Regions from separate parts of the Homo sapiens genome. Here all the other regions are linked to region 1. Evidence: promoter capture Hi-C in 16 types of primary human blood cells and fetal thymus (Javierre and others, 2016). All regions are on one chromosome and are shown on one strand. Each heading gives the region's core, a stretch centred on a gene start or on the middle of the fragment in contact. The rest is flanking DNA. Distances are from core to core; before and after follow the strand shown.

Region 1 (4,321 bases), core at 1,480-3,979:
TTGTTAATTCTGAGATGGAGTCTTGATCTATCACCTATGCTGGAGTGCAGTGGCACCATCTTGGCTCACTGCAACCTCTGCCTTCTGGGTTCAAACGATTCTGCTACCTCAGACTCGTGAGTAGCTGACACTACAGGTGTGTGCCACCATGCCTGGGTAATTTTTGTATTTTTAGTAGAGAGGGTGTTTTACCATGTTGGCCAGGATAGTCGTGAACTCCTGATCTCAGGTAAGCCGCCTGCCTTGGCCTCCCAAAGTGCTGGGATTACAGGTATGAGCCACTGCACCTGGCAGATTATTTTTATTTTGAACAACCAAGTTAGAGTTTGAGAAAGAGATGAAGGGCCTCCAGTACTCTCTTTCAATCCACTGATTCCTTCAGTCGTTCACCTGGGGGGTGGGGTTGGGCTAGGGGTTGGTTAGCAAAAAATGAGCCAAAGAAGAAAATGAATTAAAAACATGAAAGAAAAAAAAGCAAACTGCCATTTACGATGACCATTATCTCACACACAGTGGACATTTTAACTCAAAAATACTATAGGCTCACAGGCATAGATTAAACAGAGAAACCTGTTCTTCATGTTCTTATTTTTTTGCTTGCTTCCCACAGATGAGAGAAAAATCCAGCCAGAATTGGCATCTGTCAAGATAGGCTTTTAGGAGCCACGGCTCCCTAGAGTGGTCTCCACACATTCTGATTATATGCAATCTCATTTTGCCATCAAGAGACTTAACCCACTCCCCTATCCATGTAGACTTTGTAATAATAAATTATACATATATATGACTGAACTAATATATTATGTACTTTATATAACACATACTAAAACAAAAGTGTGAAAAAGATTGGTTGAAATAAATACAAGCTGAAGTTCTAAAAAAAAAAAAAAAAAAAAAGTGAGGCAAAGGAATTGCCCCTAGATGTAGTCATTTTTCCTGGGGAATTGGCCCAATGACTTCAAGTGGTTGATGTCATAATGAGTCCTTCCAAGATCTCTTTAAAAAATTGATGTGTTAAGTGATCTGTGGTGATGAGCACAGCTATACACGCCAGTTGGGAGTGCTGAAAGAAATGAATCCACAGATCTTGTGAAGTCACAAACGAGTCCTATGGCTTGGGATACAACATTGACAGTGAGAGTGATATTCCTCAATTAAAAAACGCTATAACAGGCCGGGTGCAGTGGCTCATGCCTGTAATCCCAGCACTTTGGGAGGCCAAGGTGGGTGGATCACTTGAGGTCAGGAGTTTGAGACCAATCTGGCCAACATAGTGAAACCGCGTCTCTAGTAAAAATACAAAAAATTAGCCAAGCATGATGGCATACACCTATAATCCCAGCTACTCAGGAGGCTGAGGCAGGAGAATCGCTTAAACCTGGGAGGTGGAGGTTGCAGTGAGCCGAGATCGTGCCACTGCACTCCAGCCTGGGCAAGAGAGCAAGACTTTGTCTCAAAAAAAAAAAAAAACAAAAAAAAAACAAAAAAAAAAACAAAAAAAACCAAAAACACACACACACAAAAAAAACGCTATAACAGACCAGTGGCACATGCCTGTGATCCCAGTGCTTTGGGAGGTAGAGGCAGGAGGATTGCTTGAGGTCAGGAGTTCAAGAACAGCCTGGGACACATAGTGAGACCTCATGTCGAAAAAAGAGAAAATTAGCCAAGTGTGGTGTGCCTCTATAGTCCCAGCTCTTCAGGAGGCAGAAGCAGGAGGATCGCTTGAGTCCCGGAGTTCGAGGATGTGGTGAGCTATGATGGCACCACTGCACTCCAGCCTGGGTGACAGAGTGAGACCCTGCCTCTTAGAAAACAGAAGCTATAACTCAAGCAACTTGGAAGTGAAATTCAAGTGCCTGACAGCTGTCTAGGTGCCCCTGAAACTGCCTCTAGTCACAACAAAGATACCTCCATCAAAGAGCATAGGAAGGGTTTGAATCAGATAGCTTCATGCAACACACGAACGGAAAAATAAATTTCTTAAAGAACATATTAGCTTCTTCCCATGAGATCAGGAAAACGGGACATCAATTGTCTGGGGTTCTTTGCTCCTGACTCCCTTTGGGGCTGGCACTATGTTGATCACGTTTTACAGATGGGGAAACTGAGGCTGTCGGTTTTTAAGTGGTCTGCCTAAGGTAGCAGTAAGGGTTGGTCTGACTCCAGCGCAGCCTCAACGAGGGCTTCAAATTAGGGCCATGAATTGGCAATTCCTGGCGGGTAATTGTGAAGAGTATATTTATTTTTAATTTTTATTTATTTATTTTTGAGACGGAGTGTCTCTCGGCCACACCCATCCTAGCTCATTGCTGTCTCGAACTCTCGAGCTCAGACGATCCTCCCGTCTAGGCTTCCCAAAGAGCTGGGATGACAGGCGTGAGCCCGGGCGCCCGGCCGGGAGTGTGTTAAGTATACGGCAAACACCTGGACTGCGGCCGGCTCTCCAGGAATGCCATGATATTGGGGAATTCCCTTTGCACCTGGCCAAGTGGCCTCGGGCAGGTAGCCTCCCCTCGGGTTGCCTCAGTTTCTTCTTTGGCACGCAGAGGCGGGGCTCCAGGCCTGGGCCGCTCCATGGCGGGGAGGGCGCGGGGACGCTGCACTCGGGGTGCGCTCCGAGAGGCGGACCCGGCTGGGCGCGCCTGGGGCGGGGCGAGGCGGGGCGAGGCTGGGCGGTGCGGGGGGCGGCCCCCGAGGATCACGTGGCGCGGCGCCGCGGCCGAAGCAGAAGTAGCGAGCGCCGGCGGCGGAGGGCGTGAGCGGCGCTGAGTGACCCGAGTCGGGACGCGGGCTGCGCGCGCGGGACCCCGGAGCCCAAACCCGGGGCAGGCGGGCAGCTGTGCCCGGGCGGCACGGCCAGGTGAGCTGCCCGGCCGGGAGCGAGGCAGGCAGGGCGCCCAGGGACCTGCGCCCCGCGGGGACCGGCTCCCAGGGCGCTGCGTCCGAGGGGGTCTGCGTCCTGGCTCAGCCGGAGCGGGCAGGGACGGGGCGCACCCTCGGGGACCCCGGCCCGCCGTGCCCGGGGTCCGTTTGGTGACGGCAGGGATCCTGGCCCAGCCGCTGGCCACTTCCTCACCCCGGGCCGGCGCCACCTCTCCGGTCCGTGCGGTGGGGCGGCCCCAGCTTTGAATGGGGACCGGGAGGAAGGTCAGGGGTCGTGTGGGGGCTGGCGTTCAAAACTCCTCTTTTCGAGCGGCTCTGCGTGGGGTGGCGCCGTCTCTCTTGACGGCCCTTGTGCCCAGAGCTCGCGGACGCTCGGAGCCACACTTCCCTGTCTCACTTCGGTGGTTGCGGGTGGCGGGTGGGAGCGATACCGCGGGAGGCGCAGTCCTTCCCGGAGACTTTTGGAGAGCTTGCAGGACACTCGCGATGCCCGCTCCGCAGCTGTCTGCGTAATTATGCGTGTGTCTGTGCGTGTTGTGTTTTGTTGTGTTTTGGAATCCCAAAGAGGGCATTACCCGCACAGCGCAAGAGTTCAGGTTAAAGACGTGCCCCGTTTGGACGGGGAGCTCCTGGATTCCAGCAGGACGGTGGGGCGGGGCTCTCTTGGTACCCTAATCTTGAACTAGGGTGAGAAACTATGGGGGGCGGGGTGGTAAAGGGGTGACATGGCGCGAGGGAAACAGGTGGCCTTGCCCGTCGGAACTTAATTTGAATTTCAGTTCCATCAGTGGGACCCTGGGCAAGTTGAAGAACCTTTTTGAGTCTGTTTCCCCCTCTGGATACTGGAGCCACCCAATTTTCCAGGGCTGTGTCGAGAATTGGGGCTTATTGCTGTTCCACGAGGTTCGCTGAGAATCGGGGCGCATCCATGGAGAGTCCTTGGGCAGTTCCTGACTCTCTGGTTCAAGGGCATTCTCTGGGGCATGGGCCCTCGTCCTTGACTACAGTTCTGCGGGGAAGTTTTACAGAATTTTGAAGTCTATGCCAGCCTCAAGCAGTTTCTCTTGCAAAGGTGTGTGTGCAGTCACGTGTATACCAGCTCAGGGACAATCGTCATTGTGAGCCTCACTGATGTTTAAGTCACCTAATGATGCAGCTGCCTTCCCCCACCAGCGACTGGAGTATGGGCAGTTCCTCTGGAAGTGGAAAAGCACAGACCCCATGAATAGCCCTTTTGCACTCATTGGGTAGAGTCAATGAAAAGCTGCTGGTGAGAAAACTTTTGAAAACATTTCTTGGTCAGGCACGGTGGCTCACACCTGTAATCCCAGCACTTTGGGAGGCCGAGCTGGGCTGATCACTTGAGGTCAAGCGTTCCAGACCAGCCTCACCAACATGGTGAAACCCCATCTCTACTAAAACTACAAAAATTACC
Region 2 (4,075 bases), core at 114-2,613, 390 kb before region 1:
TCTGGAAGGAGAGGGAACGAGCCTCTGCCTGTGTGTCCTGACCCCTCTTGCCTTGTTTTTGATCTGCTCAGGCCGGGTGCAGTGGCTCACGCCTGTAATCCCAGCACTTTGGGAGGCAAAGGCAGGTGGATCACTTGAGGTCAGGAGTTCAAGACTAGCCTGGCCAACATGGTGAAACCCCGTCTCTACTAAAAATACAAAAATTAGCCGAGTGTGTTGGTGGGCCCCTGTAATCCCAGCTACTCGGGAGGTTGAGGGAGGAGAATCACTTGACCCCAGGAGGCAGAGGTTGAAGTGAGCCAGGATTGTGCCACTGTACTCCAGCCTGGGCGACAGAGGGGGACTCTGTCTCACAAAAAAATAAAAAATTAAAAAAAAAGGTCTGCTCAGAAATAGGGGAAACACGGGATCAAGATCATTAGAGATTTATAGGCTGGGATGCACACCATGTCTTCAGAGCTAGCCGGCTGTGTCTTCTCCCCGTTTCTTTCACTGGTGAATAACCTTTCGTTTGAACCAGCCTTGATTGTTCTCTCCATGTTCCACTGTGGCTCCCCATGGACACTGCTAGGTGGAATCTCTGAGAAAACAGGCACTTCGCAGTCGGCGCATCTTTCTCTGCCAGCTTAGGGATTGCCGTCAAGGTGGAGGAAGGGTATTTTGGCCATGTTCGGAGTCGTTGTTTTTACTCACTCTTCTTGGGATAGCTTTCCCACCCTGCCCTCTGCTCCTCTGTCCCAACCCTCTTCCAGCCTGGTTTTTTTACTGCTTGAATTATGTATCCAAAATAAAAAGGAAAAGAAAGGTGCAGTTGGGGCGGGTTGTTGGGGGCGAGGAGAATAGCCCTTCTGGTTCTTCAGACCACATAATGGCCAGAGCATGAGCCTCACAGATCCCTGAGCAGACCTGCATACTAGCACTTTCCACAACCAGCTGGCCCTGGCTGTGAGAGTCAGATCTGTCCCCAAGGCTCCAGGTCAGAACTTGGACCCAGGTGCCTTCTGAGGCACCGCCAAGGACACATCCCAGCGCCTTAGGCACCTGTAGGCTAGAATGACACCTTCCAGGCCAGCCCCAGAGGCCCTCAGGGCTCCCCCTCCAAGCCGGGAGGGCAGGCAGGCACAGGCCCCGCTCACTACCTCAGCACCCAGTGCAGCCCCAGGCTCCCGGACGTGCTCGGCCCGGTGGCCTCTTGTGTGACAGGCCCTCTGCCATGTCTGTCCGCAGAGCCGGGTGGGGACCCTCCGTGTGGGTCCTCCTCTGTCCCTTTGCAGCTCGCATTCGCCAGAGCGGAGCGCAGCCCTTGTTTCCTTCTTTCCTCTTCAGCTCTGACTTAAAAACACACTATGTTCCAAATCGTTGTGGGATCGGAAACTAGAACTGCTTGTTTCCAGGAGAGACCACCTTTTCATATTTTTTTTAAAAGGAATTTGTGCTTCAAAAGAAACTCCAAAAAATAAATTTATTGTTAGTCTAGCATATGCTCATTGAAATTGACTTATGTTTTATTTTAAAAAATCATGTAGGATCTGGTACATGGGGCGGGCAAAAGGGTATCATCAGCTTAAGAAGTAAAGAAGTGAGCCTTCCATTTGTGTGGGTGATAACATCTTTTTCCTAGATCGTACCTCAAAATTCAGGCTCTCCATGAAAACAAAGATAATCTGAATAAAAATTGTGTGTTGGGAAATGTATCAAGTGACCTTCAGTTAAGAAAAGCACAGGCTGTTTATTAGCACAACTTGCTTCATTAAATAATTCGTGGCTTTTTCTGCCACTGGGGTTCTTTTCGTTTTGAATTCAGCTTGTGTTTGGTTCCTCGGTCTTGTACCCCTTCAGTTCGCCGGCGACGTAATGGTGATACCCTTTGTTTTTTGTATCATACCTTTTGTGAATTGTGACAACCATCCCGTAATCATTGTGGCCTCAGCAGAAGTTTTGAACAATCTTTGCAGCCACTGTTGGGGTGTGTACCAGCAGCCTGGAAGTGACCAGCAGAGCTGACAAAAGCACCCCCTGCTCTGCCCACCTCCGCAGAGTCCTGTCCTCATCAGAAACGGTATCGCGGATGCTCCTCAGGTAGGCGTAGGCAGACTTCATTGTGTGTTAGCAGTGACAGTGATGTCTGTACCTATCTGTGAGTGAGACCCATTCATGACACACTAGAAATGTGTACATTCTTTTGTTTTCCATCACGGGTATAGGTCTTCTGCCATGAAAGAGAACTATCAAGGAAATTCCTGAAAACAAGATTTGTAAATTCGATTTGACCCTCCCAAATTCAGGGCTGCTCTTTGCAGTGGTCCCTGGCCCAGCAGGTGGCCGGCGTGGCTCCTGTTGGCTCATGCCAGTGTTGTGCTGGACCCTCGAGTATGTGACTGTCACCCTTGTCCAAGACTGGTTTTTAACAGTCTTGATTTGTCATTTTGATGCTTTGAATACTATAAGGAAAATGCCACGAATACCATATAAATACCACACCAATCTGTTGAACATATCTGTGTTTTCTGACATGGGACCTGCAGAATAGTATTTCTTTTAAATCCTGCAACTTTATTATCTAGTAGAATTCCAAGTAGGTCTGCTTAGACACATATTCAGTGAAGATTGTATTGTGTGTGATATTATCCTATCTTTAATAAAGTCCTACTACTGAAAAACAGGGATTTGCAATGAAAATCATAGCTAAATAGGCAGGTTTAGAAAGTTCAAAATATTGGAAGTGCTAGAAGGCTGCAACTTGTAAAATTGTACTCCCCAAGTTCAGTAGGATAGTAGAGAAGTCGTGCTAAGTTGATTTCATTGAAATGTCACGTCTCACATCCTGTGGTCCAAAGGTACTAGTTTGTTTTGTGGAATAATTTTCTGTTCACTTGCTGATAAGAAATTTAGCAGTCAGAAGTAATTTTTAATTAATAACCTTTCTTTTTAAAAGTTGCTTTATGGTTTACAAGTAATACTGATGCAAAAAGGATTTGTTAACCTAAATTAAGTAGCACGCACTTTGTTTACATGCTTCAGTATATTGTGGGGTTGGTCCCTTCTCACGAACCCAGGACCTGTGCTTGGGGAACATTTTGCCATCATGCTGTTCTCTTGTACCAAGGATCAGTGAAAGTGTTTTATCTTTTTTATGTAGTTTGTATTGACTGGATTTTATAACTGTAAGAAAACAGAAACAGAGTGTTGTATTTTGATCTGAAATTTGTGTATGCTAAAGTAATTTTGTTTTATGTATTGGAAGTTCACTTAAAAACTTGAAATATTTTCTAGAAGGGTACCACACAAAAGGAATCATCTTTAAGCTGTTTAATTAACCTAATAAAATAATTTGATGGGGAAGGCATTCTAATTGTTTCTGATTTTTAGAGTGGTTCCTGCTAAATCATCATTATCAATACAGCTTGATTTGATTTAAGAATGAAACGTTGTCGTTTCTGTCATTTACACGGTGTGGGTGTCAGCTCCTAGACCGTGGCTTGTGATGTTAGATCCGTCCCTTAGCAGCCACACCCCAGTCACTGCCTGAGCCTCTTCCATCGCTGACTGCCTGAGTCTCTCCATCGCTGACTGCCTGAGTCTCTCCATGGCTGACTGCCTGAGTCTTTCCATGGCTGACTGCCTGAGCCTCTCCATCGCCGTCAGCATAAGTCTCCTTGCTGTCTTCCCTGAAAAATGGTTTCAAATTGGCTTTCCTCAGAAGACAGAGAGAAAATAGATTTCGGAGGACTAGAGGACCTTGATATTAAGGGCTTGGTAATATGAGGCAGAATTCCATCTGCAGAAAGCAGATTTCTCTAGTTCCCTCTTACTGCGCTGTCCAGAGACAATAAACCTACAAAGATTGGTAGTACTTGAAAAAGATAATTCAAATACAGATCTCCACTGAAGGCAAGGGGTAAAGAGCTTAGCAACTCTACCATAAGGTCCAGGTTAGGTAAGGACAGGAAAGTGCACGGGCCGTCTGCAGACTCCCTCCTGAAATCACATGAAAAGAGGCAGTATATTCATCTTTGGTGGCACGGCATGGCATAACATAGGTGTGGCAAGTGGGTTTAAATTTTTTTCTACCTTT
Region 3 (4,103 bases), core at 1,413-3,912, 410 kb before region 1:
TGCCTAACATGTATTTTAAATTTAGGGTATTTGCATAGCCTTTTTTTTCAATTACAGGAATAGACTATCTTAGGAAAATTTATTAGAGAGCAGTTTAGAGAATACTTGCTGTGGTAGGGGCAGATTTTCAGACTTCTCTACATTTTTCCTTCCTTGATACATGACTGGGAGGGCTGATTGCCCAAGGGATGAAGTCTTTTTTTTTCTTTCTTTCTTTTTTGGAGACAGTCTCGCTCTGTCGCCCGGGCTAGAGTGCAGTGGCGTGATCTCGGCTTACTGCACCATCTGCCTCCCGGGTTCAAGCGATTCTTCCACCTCGGCCTCCCAAGTAGCTGGGACTACAGGCGCATGCCACCATGCCTGGCTAATTTTTGTATTTTTAGTAGAGGCAGGGTTTCACTATGTTTTCCAGGTTGGTCTCGAACTCCTGACTTAATGATCCGCCCGCCTCAGCCTCTCAAAGTGCTGGGATTACAGGCATGAGCCACCGCACCTGGCCTATCAGGTTGTTACATATTTGTACTGGATAAGCTTTTAATATAACTATCACTTGCTTTAAGTTCATAATAATTAAACGTAAGACTGTGGTTCCTTCTTTGCTGTTTAAAAGCACTTCTCGCCAGGTGCACTGGCTCCAGGCTATAATCCCAACACTTTGGGAGGCCGACGCGGGCAGATCACTTGAGGCCAGGAGTTCAAAACCAGCCCGGCCAACATGGTGAAACCCTGTCTCTACTAAAAGTACAAAAAAAAAAATTAGCCAGGCATAGTGGCACGTGTCTGTAGTCCTGGCTGCTCAGAAGGCTGAGGCATGAGAATTGGTTGAACCCAGGAGGTGGAGTGTGCAGTGAGCCGAGATTGTGTCACTGCACTCCAGCCTGGGCAACAAAGCGAGACCCTGTCTCTAAATAAATAAGAGCACTTCCAAATAAAATTAATGTATATTCAGTTCCTTATTTCTAAGCTCTCTGATGTTTGTAAATAGAATGAAGAAAGCTGTTAATTTATCTTACCAATATAAGATTCTAACATGTTTAGATAACATTAAACACACATATAACACCAAATGCCATGTATTTAATCTTCAAAACAGCACTCTGAAGCGCATGTAGGTACTGTTACTATTCCTATTTTCCATATGAGGAAAGGGTGAGCGGTGTGCCCACAGACACACAAGGAGCAAGAAGCTGAGGTGGGATCTGAACTCAGGCGTTCTGGCCCCAGAGTCCACCTTTTCAACTACCACGCTAGATTGACTTAAAAATATAGGCTTTCCTATAACTATCGATAGAACAAAATAACATGTAGGAGTAGTTTATTTCTTAAAAGATCAGACGCAAATGTGTTATATTGGCATAGTGTGGAAACTGTAGTTGCCGGATGAGCAGTCCATATTTGATTGGAGACCATGTCGATTGTTTTTAAGTAATCTCTTGTCTTTCCTGTCTTTGTTCCCTATTTTTAGGTTAAAACTTTCTGGGAAAAAAGCCATATCTTATTCTTTTCTGTTTTTCTGAATAAAAGCAAAACTGCTTGAAAGGAAAGCAAAGAAATTGCCATAAAGTATTACCAAGCCAGAGCAACAGCTTCATATACCCAGAATGACGGTTTCTCTATTTCTGTTCCTTGTGTCCATATTCTGTTAGTAACACTACTATCCTCCCAGTCATCCATGTTCAAAAAAGGGTCATCTTGGCTGGCACAGTGGCTGACACCTATAATCCCAGAACTCTGGGAGACCCAGGTGGTAGGATCCCTTGAGCCCAGGAGTTCAAGACAACCCTGAGTAACATAGTGAGACCTTGTCTCTATGAATTTTGAAAAAATTCAAAAATGAGCTGAACATGGTAGTCCACGCCTGTGGTCCCAGCTACTTGGAAGGCTGAGGCAGAAGGATCACTTGAGCCTGGGAAGTGGTGGAAGCTGCAGTAGACCATGATCGTGCCACTACACTCCATCCTGAGTGCCAGAGCAAGACCCTGTCTCAGAAAAGGGAATCATCTTGAATTCTGTCTTGTACTTTGCAACTCATCAGTTGCCAGGTCTGGTCCTTTTTTAAATCTTGGTAGCATTTTTCACATTTCCCACCTTCCCTGCCCCGCTGCTACCCTCACAGTTATTCCTGCATCTGTGTAGTGTCATTAGCCTCTGGCCAGCCTTGCCAGTGCAGTTACTTATTTGTGGTTTTGAAAGATGAACCTGACAAAAATCAGCCAGGCATAGTGGCACATACCTTTTTGCTCAGAGTTTTTGATTGCCCTTCTCAGAATTCTTGACTGTTTCCCACTGCTTACTAAACAAAGGTAATAGTTCTTAGCCACCTACTCAGGGTTCTCCATGATTTGAGGTTAAGAAAAAGTTTCACCCTTTTTTAGTATCTTTCTTTCACATATCGTATACTCCAGCTCACTTTTTAAATCCTCTTGTGTTTTACTGCCTCCGTGCATTCGCTTAGCCTAGATGCCCCTCTACTTTAATTTTTTACAGTATATAAGTTAAATTAACTGTTCTTTGAAGTTGAGATCTGTCAGTTTCCTCTTTTGATTCCTGAATATATAACTAGAATAGACATACTTGACAACTGGCAAAATCACCATGCTGGTTCTCTGACACATGGATTGGGAGCCACCATGACAACAAGGGCTAAGTGGAAGTCCCCGGAGCTCTGCTTCCCTACCAAAATAGAAAACCAGAAACAATACTGCATCCTGGGTGAATCTGCAAAAACCATGCCACCATGAAAGAGTAGAAAATGCAGGAGAGGTGATGCCTATCACATCCCCACTTAATTCACCTAGAAAAAGTAGAAAAGTAAAGTGGATCTCGGAAAATCTTGGAAAATTTTTATTTCAAACATGTTATCAATTTTAAAATGTTTGTGTAGCTTGTTTTTAGGTTTTCCTTTTACTTTGGGTTTCTTTTACTCTTTTCTAGCTTCTTTGGGTAGAATTCTACATTACTCATGGTAGATCTTTTGCTTTTTTTTGAGACGGAGTCTCACTCTGTTGCCCAGGCTGGAGTGCAGTGGCGTGATCTCGGCTCACTGCAAGCTCCACCTGCCGGGTTCACACCATTCTCCTGCCTCAGCCTCCTGAGTAGCTGGGACTACAGGCGCCCGCCACCGCGCCCAGCTAATTTTTAGTAGAGGCAGGGTTTCACCGTGGTCTCGATCTCCTGACCTCTTGATCTGCCCGCCTCGGCCTCCCAAAGTGCTGGGATTACAGGCATGAGCCACCGCGCCCAGCCGATGTTTTGCTTTTTTAATGCACACAGAGAAAGTTTTCATAAACTTAATCAGGTGATCATACTGATCCCAAATTCTTTCCCAGACGTAATATCCTCACACAAATGTTGTATCTTTATGAGGCACAGTTCCCAACCTTAGTATGGCAGCCGTTGACATAGCTAATGTATTTTCTTCATACCAATTTGCAAGGGTCACCAGAAGCAGTTTGCTTTTACTTGTCAGGGGCAACAGTATGCCTCCACAGCCTTGCCTCAGGGCTGTATCAACTAATATATAATGGGCTAATGTCGGCTGTATATTAGTCCACAGAGATTTTAATCATCATGATGTTCCACAAAACATCTCACTGGTCTACCCCACTGACCACATTGTGCTGTTTGTATCTTATGGTTAGGAAGAAACAGGTACTTTCAGATGCCTTTGTAAGACGTGTGAACTAGAGGATAAAAGATGAACCCCACCCCCAACCACATCTGTTTCAGTCATGGTCCAGTCAAGTGGCAAAAACCACACCAGTCTTTTGAACAGGGAAAATGTAATATATGTAATTACCACTAGTAAGAGACAGCTGCTAAAAGTGGGAAAAGAGGACTCTGAAAACTGTAGAAATAGCTAATGTAGGAAGCACAGCTGCTACCTTTAGGGCAGAGGGAAAACACCCAAGGAAGGAACAAATCAGGAAGTATTTTCCCCATCCCACAGGGCTGAGATTCATCCCATTGGAAGTGTGTGTGCTGAGGCCGCTGGAGAGTGTGCACCCCTGGTCTCCTGCATGCTGGTAGGAGCAAGCACAGGAGGAGTGAGAGGAAGGCAGCCGACAGCGGCATAGTGGCCCTTTGGCCCCTGGCCTTGCCAG

What was found. The method cuts DNA at HindIII sites, captures the fragments that hold promoters and counts their contacts. A CHiCAGO score of 5 or more calls a contact.
Region 2: a contact is called between a fragment that was not itself captured here and the fragment with the promoter of PLCG2 in region 1, in 1 of 17 cell types (neutrophils). The highest score is 6.2, in neutrophils.
Region 3: a contact is called between a fragment that was not itself captured here and the fragment with the promoter of PLCG2 in region 1, in 5 of 17 cell types (total B cells, naive B cells, neutrophils and 2 more). The highest score is 8.6, in total B cells.

What each region holds. Positions count from the first base shown.
Region 1 is chr16:81,776,562-81,780,882 of GRCh38, forward strand. PLCG2 (phospholipase C gamma 2) reads left to right here and starts at 2,730. Exons shown (of 33, transcript NM_002661.5): 1 at 2,730-2,863. It overlaps LOC105369213 (a long non-coding RNA gene), which reads left to right. Exons shown (of 4, transcript NR_189584.1): 4 at 611-792. RefSeq lists silencers at 2,223-2,517, 2,546-2,815, 2,846-2,945, 2,956-3,035. The HindIII fragment of the contact is 8,410 bases long and covers 1-4,321 here.
Region 2 is chr16:81,387,464-81,391,538 of GRCh38, forward strand. It overlaps GAN (gigaxonin), which reads left to right. Exons shown (of 11, transcript NM_022041.4): 11 at 1-3,346. Among named protein-coding and RNA genes, the nearest start is that of MIR4720, 4.5 kb to the left of the region's middle. The HindIII fragment of the contact is 7,296 bases long and covers 1-4,075 here.
Region 3 is chr16:81,366,624-81,370,726 of GRCh38, forward strand. The region is part of intron 9 of GAN (gigaxonin); the gene reads left to right. Among named protein-coding and RNA genes, the nearest start is that of MIR4720, 16 kb to the right of the region's middle. The HindIII fragment of the contact is 4,266 bases long and covers 530-4,103 here.